4 separate regions of the Homo sapiens genome follow, and regions 2, 3 and 4 are each linked to region 1. The links are contacts of gene promoters, found by promoter capture Hi-C in blood cells and fetal thymus (Javierre and others, 2016). All regions are on one chromosome and are shown on one strand. Each heading gives the region's core, a stretch centred on a gene start or on the middle of the fragment in contact. The rest is flanking DNA. Distances are from core to core; before and after follow the strand shown. Region 1 holds the start of TOX2 (TOX high mobility group box family member 2). Region 2 overlaps TOX2 (TOX high mobility group box family member 2). Region 3 overlaps TOX2 (TOX high mobility group box family member 2). Region 4 overlaps LOC101927200 (a long non-coding RNA gene).

What was found. The method cuts DNA at HindIII sites, captures the fragments that hold promoters and counts their contacts. A CHiCAGO score of 5 or more calls a contact.
Region 2: a contact is called between a fragment that was not itself captured here and the fragment with the promoter of TOX2 in region 1, in 1 of 17 cell types (total CD8 T cells). The highest score is 6.4, in total CD8 T cells.
Region 3: a contact is called between a fragment that was not itself captured here and the fragment with the promoter of TOX2 in region 1, in 6 of 17 cell types (monocytes, naive CD8 T cells, total CD8 T cells and 3 more). The highest score is 7.1, in monocytes.
Region 4: a fragment that was not itself captured here is called in contact with the fragment with the promoter of TOX2 in region 1 in 1 of 17 cell types (naive CD8 T cells); the score reaches 5.7 in naive CD8 T cells.

Annotation. Positions count from the first base shown.
Region 1 is chr20:43,913,031-43,916,177 of GRCh38, forward strand. TOX2 (TOX high mobility group box family member 2) reads left to right here and starts at 1,822. Exons shown (of 9, transcript NM_001098797.2): 1 at 1,822-1,960. The coding sequence starts at 1,862. RefSeq lists silencers at 1,473-1,592, 1,693-1,792, 1,813-1,922, 1,973-2,062, 3,133-3,147 and enhancers at 1,559-2,276, 2,277-2,994. The HindIII fragment of the contact is 9,025 bases long and covers 1-3,147 here.
Region 2 is chr20:44,026,356-44,029,689 of GRCh38, forward strand. All of the region lies in intron 3 of TOX2 (TOX high mobility group box family member 2), which reads left to right. Among named protein-coding and RNA genes, the nearest start is that of TOX2, 110 kb to the left of the region's middle. The HindIII fragment of the contact is 2,155 bases long and covers 544-2,698 here.
Region 3 is chr20:43,990,865-43,994,200 of GRCh38, forward strand. All of the region lies in intron 2 of TOX2 (TOX high mobility group box family member 2), which reads left to right. Among named protein-coding and RNA genes, the nearest start is that of TOX2, 78 kb to the left of the region's middle. The HindIII fragment of the contact is 2,704 bases long and covers 79-2,782 here.
Region 4 is chr20:43,795,410-43,798,485 of GRCh38, forward strand. The region is part of intron 1 of LOC101927200 (a long non-coding RNA gene); the gene reads left to right. It also overlaps the pseudogene RNU6-639P. Among named protein-coding and RNA genes, the nearest start is that of GTSF1L, 70 kb to the left of the region's middle. The HindIII fragment of the contact is 701 bases long and covers 1,243-1,943 here.

The DNA of each region.
Region 1 (3,147 bases), core at 572-3,071:
CTATTGAAAATGTTAATTTTATTCCAATTGATCTAAAGGTTCAAAGTGATACCAATTGAAATCCCAGCAAGATTGTGTTAGTGTGTTTGTGTGTATATATATAAATAGGTATGCTGATTCCAAAATTTCTGTGAAAGTGTAAACATCAAGAATAGCCAATGCAGTCTTAAAAGAACAAAATGGGTAGGCTTATTTCATGGGACATTTAGACTTATAAGCCCACAGTAATCCAGACATTGTGATAATGGCACAGGGAGAGAAAAATAGGCTAACAGAACAGAATAGAGAATTCAGGAACAGTCTTATGCACATATCGACTACTTGATTTACGACAATGTTAGCATTGCAGAAGAGTATGTGTGTGTGTGTAGGGGGGTGGTGGTGGTGGTGGTGATCTTTTCAATAAAGAGTGCTGGTCAGTTGGATATCCAGATGAAAAAAATGGACACAGGACAATGGAAATTTTTTTCTGATGAGGTGTGGCATTGTATTTCTAGAAACAATGACTGCTGAAATTTATTTGGAAGTTCTTTCCTTTCTGAGCTATAATTTCCCTCTGTTGTTCCCAAGCCTTCAGTGAATGCCTGTTTCCCACACCTATCTTTTGTTAATGCATCTTTCTTATGGTCCTAGTTCTAGGCCAGGACCAGCAAAGCCCAAGCAGCAGTTGAGAACTAAGTTCTAAGCTAGCTCCTGAGTGGGCAGGAAGCTCAAGTCCTTTTCTCCCAATGGCATCCTATATCCTGGTGCCACACAAGAATGCCATTCTGGCTGACTTCGCCTCCTGGCCTCTCCCAGTCAGACATACCTGGAGCAGTCAGTGAGCAGTGAGATTGCTAGGGGAGATTGCTAGTGTAGACAATTCTTGCATGAAAAGGGGGATGGGGGTGCAACAGTCTAGCAACCAGCAAGTGATATCAAGAACTAGAGGGTTTTTTTTTTTTTTTTGGTTGGGGAGGAACCCCATTTCACAGTCACCTTTCTGACCCACCATCAGAGCCATCCCATTCCAATCTCATTTTCTTCCTTTCCTCACTCCAAGAGACCGTGACTGTGGGCAGATCCTAGACCCCTCTTCAGAGCTTCGGGCTCTAGGCATTCCTGCGGCCCTCCCCTCCCTATCATTAAAAGGGGTGGGGTCCTGCTGCCTTCTCCAAGTGGTTTCAGCTCTGGATCCTTTGGGGGCAACGGAGCCCACCCGCCTGGAGCTCCATTACTGATGCTGCAAGTTTTTGACTCAGTTTCCCCATATGTGAGTGAGAGTTTAAGCGCGGCAATCTCCAGGGGGGGCTGTCAAGCTGACTCAGATCAGTGAGACGAGGAGGGGGCGGGCATGCTAAGAGCATCCTCCGGCGCTGGCCTGCGTCCCCCCAGGTAAGGCAGCACCCATCTCCAAAGTGGTCCTGTCACCACCTTCCTCTTCCCCCCGCACCCACGCCGCGGGGCGGGGACTAGCGCCGCCTCAAATATTTAGGGCAAGGGAGTGTCCCACTTCTGGGGAGGGGTGCCGTTCGGGCTTCTCTCCTCACCGTGGGTGGCGAAAGGCGGGACGGAAAAGCGCCGTCTGGACAGGCGCGCCCCCCTCAGGGATGCAGGGCCGGGCGGGGGACCCGGCGGCGGCCCAGCCCGGAGGAAGGACCTCCACGCCCCGGCCCGGGCCCCCGGGCCCCCGGCCCTAGGCAGCGCCCGAGGCCGGAACAATAGCGCGCGCGGGCGGGGCGGGGGCGGGGGCGGGGCGCTCCTCTGGGCACCGCCCCCGGCCCGCCCCCCGCGCTCGCAGTCCCGCTCGCACACTGGCTCCCACCCGCCGCCCGCCCAGGCACTGCCCGCGGGAGCCGCCGCCGCCGCCGCCGCGCCCGCCATGGACGTCCGCCTGTACCCCTCGGCGCCCGCGGTGGGCGCGCGGCCCGGGGCCGAGCCGGCCGGCCTGGCGCACCTGGACTATTACCACGGCGGCAAGGTAGGCGGGGGCGGGCGGGGGTCCCCGGCGGGCGGGGCCGGAGTCACCTGGCAGCTCGGGACTCAGGCGCTCCCGGGGTCACACGGGGCCGCGCACATCAGCCCCGCCGACGGGCACGGGCGGCTCACATCGATCCCCTCGCGGCCACGCTCACGCCCTGAGTTGTTGGGATCGCGGGCAGAAGTCATCCCGACAGCCACCCGTGCGACGACACAGTGGCCCCTCACTCGCGTCCCCCTGACAGCCTCGCAGTCATTCACAAGCCGTCACAGTGACCCACAGCCACACGCAGGCGGCCAGGCACTGCTTACACGGTCCCGCCGTCCCACGCAAGTCACCCTGACAGTCACTTATACACAACGACACGCAACCACTCACCCGCAAACAGCCTCACCGCCACAGACGAGTCACCCACAGACGCTCCGATGCCCCACACACCGTGACATGCCCCCACCCGCTGTCACACCCAGGCACAACGGGGGACAGTCACACAAAGAAGTCGCCCGACAGTCACACTCTCGCAGCCACAACGCCTCACCCAGGCGCACGCTGTCACACACAGCCACCCCCCTGGACGGTGAGCCTCAGACACAGATCGTCCTGACGGCCACACAGTCACACGCGGTCACACCCAGGGACGGCCACACCTCGGTCATCCACACTCGCGCGTCGAGGTTTAACTTCTCAGCGCCGCAGCACACTAATTGGGCAGTTTACTAATTGGCCGTCACTGCCTGGCGGGGCCTCGGATTCCGAGTAGGCTGCGGCCAATCGAGGCCTGTGTCCTCCCGGGAGCGGTGAGCCGGCGTCCCTCCAGGCTGGGGCTGTAGTGCCGGACACCCTCCCTCCTCCATGTTTCCAGGATCTATCCCCCCACCCCAGCCAGGTCCCAGCTGCGCTGCGCCGGGCGCATTCCCAGTGATGGAGGCTTGCGTGCCTGGAACCCCGAACCCGAGGCGTCAGGTCCCACTGCCGGGTCTGGCCCAGCCTGGATGGGTTGGGTGCCTCTAAGCAGTCCGCGTCCCCTTCGGTCGCCGGAGAGGGAACTTTCAAACTTAGTTAGGAAGCCAGACTGTCCGCGCGTCCGCCAGTCGGTGCGTCGGTCCCGGGCCGGCTGGAGCCAAGCGCGGGTTTTCGTCACTCGGAGCCCGGATTGAACAGCGCGCGTGGGTTTCCCGCAGCCCTGG
Region 2 (3,334 bases), core at 371-2,870, 110 kb after region 1:
ACTCAGGAATGGAAAACCAAACATCGTATATTCTCACTCATAAGTGGGAGCTAAGCTATGAGGATGCAAAGACATAAGAATGACTCAATGGACTTTGGGGACTCAGGGAGAAAGGGTGGGAAGAGGGGGAAAAAGAAGATAAACAGCATATTTTGAACTAAAAATTACTCCTTGATATTAATAGTGGGCATTCCTCTTAAATTATGGATTAAAAAAACCCTAGGAATTTGTTTTACCTCAAAAATAAAATAAACCGTAATAAACCTAAAAAGGGGGTGCTGGAGAGCAGGAAATGTGTGGCTTCTTCTGCCTCCCTGACACTGTCTCAGGCCAGACCTCCCCACACCCCCTTCATCAATTAAATTGTGGTAAATTAGGCGGTAGGAACCACCCCAGAACTCCAAGTCCTTCTGTGCCTCAGGTCCACTGTGTGACCTCAGGGCTGGTTCTGACCCTCTCTGGGCCTCCTTCCTTCTTCTGTGGGGTGAGGCCACTGAGCCCCATCCCTGAGCACCCACAACTCTCCTGGGAAAGGATCTGGGAAGCTTTTCCTGCCGCCTCCTCCCCACCTTGGGCATTTCAGTCTCGGCTTAACCAGCCACTTCAACACAGGCAACACTTTTCTCGAGAGTTCATAAAAACATGTAAACACGGGTGAGGATACAAAATATTGAGCGGCGAGGCAGTAAAACACGGCAGTGTTTGTTGTGTTAACTGAATATTCATGAGCTGACTGTTTAAATTACAGTTCACAACTGTTGCAGGGCCTGATGAATAATTTAAATGAGGGTGGCCAAAGAGATTTCAACACTGCATTAGCAAACTGCTCAGGATCAGCTTCAGAGAATTTATAATTAGCTCAGAATAGCCTATAATAAATTCTTTGGAAAGATGGTTTTAATTAGCACATGTGCCAATTCAGAATGGAGAATGTTCAGCGTTCAGGGGAGGGGGTGGGTCACCCTCCCCTCCTTCTTATGTTTCCCCGTCATGCGGAGGTCCCACCACCTGCCTGGGATCCCTGAGCCATGCTGAGCCCACCCGGAACCCACCACCAGGCTTCCTGCCTTGAGTCTGTCCCGCCTCCACTGCCCCATCCCAGCTTAGGCCTCTCCGCCATAGCCTGTGCAGCTGCAGAAGCCTCTGACCTGGTCTCCCTGCTTCTGTGTCTCCTGCTCCAGTTCATCCCCATGGGGGCAGCCAGTGGGAACTTACTGGATGCAGATCTGATTCCATCTCTGCCCCATTTGGAGATCCTTAATTGAGGAGGCCCAGAGAGATGAAGTGGCTGGTCGAGCTCAAATAGGTCCCAGACACCAGTTGACTTCAGCCAGTGCCTAGGTGCTTGGGGATGGGTGAGGCATCACTGGCAGAAGGAAGTGCACAGGCAAAGATGAGGAGGCAGGAATGTTCTGTGTGTCGGGGGCCAGTGGGGAGCAGGACAAGCAGAGGCTTGGAGAAAGCAGGGGCCCGACCATGGCGTGCCTCAAATGCTTCGAGGTGGAGGATGTAGGAGGGAGGTCCCACTTAGGGGATCATGGAGGCTGCCAGTCTGGGGCCTAGAGCTCCCAGCCCACCTGGCTCATTCCTCAACATGTGCTGAGTGCCTGACAGGTGCCAGACCTCGGGCTGGGCACTGGGGAAACGGCTCAGAGCAAAGCACCAGCCACGGTTCCCTCTTTCATAAATGGAGCACACAACCAGAGCCATGTACACACTCAGCCGAAGGTACGACTAACAGCTGTGACAAGTTCAATGGAAAAAATAACAGGGTGTCAGGAGAGAGAATCAGCAGGGATCCTGATTTAGGTGGGGAGCCAGGGAAGGCCTCCTGAAGGCAAGGGCATTTGAACTGAGTCCAAAAGTGAGTAGGGGTGAAGGAGGCCAACTGGTCCCAGGTGGAAGGGGCTGCCCCATTCCCAGAGGGGGTGCTGTGGCTGGGCAGGGGGGTGAGGGGGTCTAGTAGAGCCCCCAGCAGCAGCCTAGGGTGGGGCTGGACTGGTTCTGGGAGAGGGGCATCTGTCTATGGGGAGCTCATTGCTGGAGGAGAAAATAACCTACTTTTCTGCTCCCAAACCCTCGCTGCAGCGCTTAGAGCTGCAAACCTTGAGCAAGACATTGGAGTTTCTCTGCTTCATTCCATCAGGATCACTCACGCACTCATTCAGCCCTCACACTTTTATTAAGCCCCTACTATGTACCAGGCACTCTTCCAAGCCCTGAGCAGTGAACAAAACTGATGACAATCCCTGATTCCTGGAGCTTACATTCCAGTGATACAGACAGACAAAGACGCAAAGGAGTAAGATGTGCCCTCCCTGGCACTCAGATGGGGGAGGAAAGGTTCCCTGCCAGATTCTCTGATGCCCCCTCCCAGTCCTGGTGCTGTGGGCAGGGCTCTCAGACCCCTTTTGAAATAGAAACTGAAGATCAAATTCAGGAATTTGGAGGATTCACAGCTTGGACAGGTCATTTTTAGTTATCCACCTGCTGTGACCAAGGGCAGCCAGTTCTGCCTCCTCAGCTCTCTCCTGTCCATGACATCTGCCCCATGTGCCTCTTGACCCTGCCTTTAGCCTCTTGCCCTGAGCACAGGGGAACCTGCTGGGCCATCCCCCACTCACACACCACTCTGGACCCCCAGTGACTGCCAGACCAAGTCCTCATCCCCTTGTGATCTGCCCCTCCTGGCTCCCCAAGCTTCGTCCCTTCCTTGGCCACAGTGAACCCTGGAGTCCTGGCAGCCCCCTGACACTCAGGGTCGCCACCGCGCTGATGCTGAACAGCAAGCCTCGCCCTCCAGCTCCGCTTCCATCACAGCAGTTCTGTGGTTTGTCATTGTTTTTGACCAGTGGTTCCCTCTCAATTCTTCACAAAGATACAGAAAGATAAGTCACAAAGATTAGTCAAAACAAGACGGATATTGCTGTGCTGACCTGCTTGGTGATAACAAGCACCATACCCTTTCAGGCACTCTGTAACCGTGGGTAAGAGGATGTGGTGAGGCCAGCCCAGCCTGCACCATGCCCCTCTGCCCTCAATAGTGAAAAGAGCTCAAACTTTGGGGTCAGACAGACCTGGGTTTGGATCCTGATCCTGCTCTGTGTGCGCTGCAGACAGGGAGCCATGAACCTCACCTCTTGGAGGCTCCGTTTGCTCAACTGTAAGGTGGAAACAGCAGCAGCGACCTCACAGGGTTGTTAAAAGAACCACTTGACCCCCAAAATGAGAACATGGCCTGTGAGTGGCAAACCCATGTTCCAGTCACCCGCTTCTGCAGTTAGGATCCCCATGGGGAATTGCTGTGATGGGAACACCTGCCCTCCACAATCGC
Region 3 (3,336 bases), core at 181-2,680, 77 kb after region 1:
CAATGCTACTTCTGTCATTTTCAGAAGGTAGAAATGGGAAAGAAAAAAAAAGCTGCAAATAGACATCATTTTTCCAGAAGCTTATTTTAAGACAGAAACAACTAGAGAGCCTACTCATCATTTTTGCTGCTTTTAAAATCAGCACTGCCTTGTGTGTGCCTGGGTACCTGCATACAAGGAGCACAGGCATGAATTGAATTTGATTTTTAAAATCCCTTGATCCAATTGCCTCTTTTTACAGTTGGTGTAACTGAGGCCCAGAAAGGGGTCAGTGATTTGTCCAAGGTCACACAGCCTGTCAGAGGTAGGGGCTCAGATCTTCATGAGAAGATGCTAAGATAAGGACAAGGAACCAGGAGACCCCGATGGGCCAAGTTAGAATGATTTCATGCTGAACAGCGTCACTGAGCGGGCTGCTTCAGACCTTTGCTGACTTCTTAGAGCTTGCAGGAAAGATGGTGCAGCACTGAGCCCAATGCCATAGCAGACCATTAGGATGTTCATTCATTCATTCACTCCAAAACATATTTACTAAGCACCTACTGTGCGTCAGGCAGTGGTGTAGGTGCTGAGACGAAACTGTGAACAAAGCAGTCAAACACTCCTAGTCCTTACTCGTTCATGCATCCTTTTATTCAGTAAATGTTTATTGAGGGCCTACTATGTGCAAGGTACTATCCTTGGCCCTTGGAATATATCAGTGACCAAATGGTGGAATTTATATCCTAGTGAAGGGGACAGGCAATAATCATTATTATTATTATTATTATTATTATTATTATTATTATTATTATTTTGAGTTGGAGTCTTGCTCTGTCATCCAGGCTGGAGTGCAGTGGTACAATCTCAGCTCACTGCAACCTCCACCTCCCAGGTTCAAGCAATTCTGCTGCTTCAGCCTCCTGAGTAGCTGGGATTACAGGCATACACCACTATGCCCGGATCATTTTTGTATTTTTAGTACAGATGGGGTTTCACCATGTTGGCAACGCTGGTCTTGAACTCCTGACCTCAGGTGGTCTGGCCTCCCAAAGTGCTAGGATTACAGACGTGAGCCACTGCAGCCAGCCATAATCATTATTTTAAAGAAGTAAAGTATACTGTATGTTTGCAGGTAAAAGTTCTGTGGGGAAACTGAGCAGGTAGGGGAGCTGGGTGTGCCAGCAGGAGCTGCACTTGCAAACAGGGTGGCCAGGGAAGGCGCTGCTGAGAAAGTGACATTTGAGCAACGACTTGAAGGGGCGAGGGAGTTGAGATCTGGGAAAGGACATTGCAGTAGAGGGAACAGCCAGCACCAAGGCCCCGCAGTGGGAGTGTGCCTGGCATGTTTGAGGAACGTGGCTGGAGTGGAGGCAGTGAGGTGGAAGAACTGGGAGACTTATCTGATCGACGGCTGGGATGGTCAAGAGCAGCTCCCAACCACGTGTGGCATGGGCAGAGGTAAGTGACCCAGGACAGCATCAGGAGTGATCGTGTAGGAGCGATCGTGTAGGAGCCAGGATACCCCTACCTCCCTTGTAAGGCCTCCCAGCATTGACATGAGGGCAGGGCACGTGCATGGGGTGTGGCATCCCTTGCAGTGATTTAAAGGGAAGTCTCAGCATCTCGCAATGTCTTGGAGCCAAAGGAGCTCCCATTTTGAGGCCACTGTGGGAAACTCATGTGGCGTAAGGAAGGATCATAGCCTTCAGATCGAGCCAGGCCCATATCTGAAAAAATGTCGTGGTTGAATGTCTTAGTAATACCAGCATGGAGAAGCCATTTTCTAAGCATGATGTGAAAGCCAGAAATCATACATTAATACATTTAATGTTTTAACATAAATGTAAAGCCCTTGATATGGCAAAAGTTATAAATAAGATCAAGTGACAAATTGGGAGTAATATTTGTAGCATGTAACATGCAAACACATAGAATAAAACAATAGAAAAATGGCAGAGGTAATGCTGGTTTTAGAACATGAAACACATTCGTGTAGGGTTTACAAAAAAAAAAAAAAAAAGAAAAAATGGTGGAGGGCCAGATTTGGTCCACGGCCTGTGATTTGCTGATCCGAACTGATTTAGGAATGTTGACATGTCCAAAACTGAGCTCGTGGTCCTCCTTATACCCACCAAGCATGTTTTCCCCTCAGTATTCCTCCACCAGTGGCTCGAGATGGGAACCTGGGAGTGATGTTCGAGTCCCCGCTGAATGAGGAAGGCACGTGGCATGTCAGACACCATCCAGGCTGGCCATAGCGATGAGGGGGTGTCATAGGAGGTGAGACTGGAAGGAGACTGGGCCGGATCATGCAGGACTTTGCAGGCTACAGAGAGGGTTTCACACACACTGTATCCTGAGCGTAGAGGACATCAGCTAATGGGAGTATCACCATCAGTTTTGTGTGTGGAACCTCTACCCTGGCTGCTATGGAGAACAATTTGGAAGGAAAGAGATTAGAAGTTAGGAGATCATTGAGGAGGTGATTACAGCAGTCCTTGTGGGAGGTGATGACCGCTTGGACTAGGATGGTTGCTCTGCAGATGGATTGTGGTGGGAAGATTTGAGATACATGGGGAGGTGGGGCTGACAGGACTTTGTGATTGATTGGAGATGGGGATGAGAGAGGGAGGAATTGAACATCTCTCCCAGGTACCCAGCTTGAGCCACCGGTAGAGGAATACTGAGGGGGAAATGGACTTGGTGGGTACAAGGATGACCACAAGCTCAGTTCTGGACGTGTCAAAGAAATCATGGCCCTTGGACCAAATCTGACCCTCCACCTGTTTTGTGTAAATAAAGCTTTACTGGAACATGGGATCCTCCTAAGTTTAAATATTGCCTGTGGCTACTTTCATGCTATAGCAATAGAGTTGAATAGTTCTGACAGAGACCATATGACTCACAAAGCCAAAAATACATATTATCTGCAGAAAAAGTTTGCTGGGCTTTTGTGTAGGACATCCAAGGGAAGTAAAGTATCAAAGAGGCAGTTGGATATGTAGCTATAAAAATGTAATTTGAGGCTGGGCACAGTAGCTCACGCGTGTAATCCCAGCACTTCGGAATGGAAAGCAGGGAGGATTGCTTGAGGCCAGGAGTTTGAGACCAGTCTGGGCAATATAGCAAGACCCGGTCTCTACAAAAAAATAAAAAATAGTAGGACATGGTGGCACACGCCTGTAGTCCCAGCTCCTTGGGTGTCTCAGGTGGAAGATCGCTTGAATCCGGGAGATTGAGGCTGCAGTGAGCTGTGATCATGCCACTGTGCTCCAGCCTGGGCAACAGAGCAAGACCCTGTCTCGAAAAAGAAAATTCAATTAAAAAAACAAAAACAGTTTGGCACGGTGGCTC
Region 4 (3,076 bases), core at 343-2,842, 120 kb before region 1:
GTGTAATTTAGCTTAAAATCTTAAAGGGTCCTTATGCCTGCTTCATAGAGACATATTGGGGAGGGCAAGAACACAAAAGAGGAGAAGAGTGAGGGCTACTACAGTTGTCCTGGTGAGAGATAATGGAGGCTTGAACTAACGTAGAGGCAGTTGGGTTGGAGGGATGAGTGGATGGACGTAGAGTATGTTGTCAGGCTTTGATGACAGATTTGGGGATGGGAGTTTGGGAGAGGGGAAAGGGAAAGAATCCTAGGGTTCTGTCTTGTGCAAGTAAGTAGATGAAAGAGCGCTTCATGGAATTAGGGAGCACTGGGGGAGGAAAATATTGGAGTGGAAGATCCAAAATTCACTTTTGTGCTGAAATTTCTGTGATACATTCTTATGGAGATGTCAGTAAGGTAGCTAGATGTATATCATGAACCAGATTTTTCTGTTTTATTTCTAATTGGCTATTGTTATATATAGAAAAACTGTTGCTTCACGCAAATAGATACTTTTTTTTCTGAGATGATCTCACTCTGTTGCTGAGGCCGGAGTGCAGTGGTGGGAACATGGCTCACTGCAGCCTCAACCTCCTGGGCTTAAGTGATCCTTAAACCTCAGCCTCTCTATTAGCCTGGACTATAGGCATGCACCACCATATCTGGTTGATTTAAAAAAATTATTATTTTTTTTTCTGTAGAGACGGGTCTCGGTATGTTGCCCAAGCTGGTCTCAAACTCCTGCATTCAAGCAATCCTCCTAATTCAGCCTTCCGAAGTGTTGGGATTATAGGCATGAACCATTGAGTCCAGCTGCAAATATACTTTGTATTAGACCATTTTACTGGCCTCTCTTGTTAGTTTGAATAGCTTTTCTGTGATTTTTTTGGTGTTCTCATATGTAATTATATTGCCTGCTAATAATGATAAATGTATTTCTTCCTTTCCAACCATTTTACCCCTTATTATTTTTCTTGTTTTATCACATTGGCTATAGTAGAGGTCCTTTTGAAGTTAGCTTTTTTAATGTATATAATTTTTTCTTAAAAAATATGGAATGCTTCATGAATTTGCATGTCATCATTGTGTAGGGGCCGTGCTAATCTTCTCTGTATTGTTCTAATTTTAGTATATGTGCTGCCAAAGCAAGCACTACAGTTAGTTTTAATGGTAAACATAATATTGATATTTGACCAGCTAAGAGGAAGATGATTTTGAGACAAAGCTTCGAGGCAGTGTATACAGCTCAAATTATGACAGAAGCTTAGATGTGGTGTGATAATACATTTGAATAAGGTGGTGTCTTAGTTCTTGCTGCTGTAACACAATGCCACAGACTGGGTAATTTATATTGAGCAGAAGTTTATTGGCTCATGATTCTGGAGGCCAGGAAATCCAAGATCAAGGGGCCGGCATCTGACAAGGGCCTTCTTGCTATGTCATCTTATGGTGGGAGGGCAAAGAGAGGGCGAGAGAGGGAGCAAATGGTCAAACTCACAGCCTCAAACCCTTAAATTCATTCATGGAGGTGAAGCCTTCATGACTAAACACCTCCCATGAGGCCCCGCCTCCTAACAGGCCCCACCTCCTGACACTGTTGCATTGAGGATTCTGTTTCCAACACATGCTTTTTGGGAGACACAGTCAAACCATAGCAGGTGATAACTGAAGACATAAAAAGGGATATAAATACCAACTCTCTTACCCTCATACTCATAGCCAGAAGAATGGTCTGTCCATAAAACATGATCACAATGCTTCAAACCTGAAGCATGGTGGTCAAATTGACAGGAAACTAAGAATATCTAAAAGTAAAGGTTAAAGTTGGGTAGAGTGTGTTCATTTGGAAAAGAGAACAGAGAAGAAATTGATCATAATTCTCAGTTTATGAACACCTGTAAAAAGGTAGGATGAAAAGAAATAGACAGATAGGTATATTTTAAAATCAGTGTCCATGGTTGAAGCTTAATCTTCCAAAATATCCTGTAACAACTATAATTTATGTAATGCTAGTATGCATATAACATATCACTTGGTTTCCCCATCACCTCAGTGATATAGGTAGTAATTCACATTTATCCATAGTTTGACATTTTCTAACATGCTTAGATTACCTCATTTGATGTTTACATTCTCAGGGCTTGCTCCCTTGCAATTAAGGCTACAATAAAAATCCATCTGCTTTTAGTTCTTTGAACGCAATGTCCTGCATTCTCTCTACTCGGCCTTTGTCCATGTGGCCCACCTTGTGATGCCTGTTTCTCCTTCACAACCCAGTTCAGCCCCAAGGAAAGGCCTCTGTTCCATTGTCAGAAGGGAGAGGTGAGTGTAGCCAGCCAGGCCTTGAAGGAATTCAAGCCAGGTAGCAGGTATAGCACAACTCAAATATGCTGCCGTAAGCTTTGCTGAGCTCCCTTGCTTTAGGGAAGAAAAGAAAAAGAAAGTCCTCTTTAGCCAGCTGCATTTCTTCTTCCCATTTCCAGAGTGTACCAGGGAGGGTACACATGTGATTGTCCATGGGCTCACCTTTACCCATCACTCCTCTGGGGCAGATGCCAAATCATGTGTCTCGTGATGCAAGAGCTTCATGGGGGTGGAGCAGGGTTGGGTGCTGTCTAAGAGGGAATGAATGGCCCAAAGCTCCAGGTCTGGACAGTCTGAGACCCTCTTGCTGGGGAGTAGCGTTTTGGGAAAAATGAAATACACTTGGCTGGATCTGAAACTTTCTGTAGTTAGGTCTGGTTGGGTGGAAGGGGATCTTGGGTGGCCTTCAAGCCTTGGAGACCCCCAATCCAAGATCTCTAAGGACGTATACCTAGAACCTTCCAGCTTATCTGCATCGTCAGTGTTTCTCACTCTTCTGTGCATGCCCCAAGTTGTCTCTGCTGTCAGGCTGCAAGATTGTTGTGGAAACAGGCTGAGCCTATTCCATCTTGCTCAGTCACAGGGCCTTGTCTGGTGCCTGGCACACAGAGGGCTGCAGCAAGTGTTGGTTGATTTGAAATCACAGTTGAGCCTCCTGCCTCAGCATCTCAGTCAGTGCTCCATAGCCAGTCACGTGGCTGCCTACAAAGGAGAAGAAGATAAAAGAATCC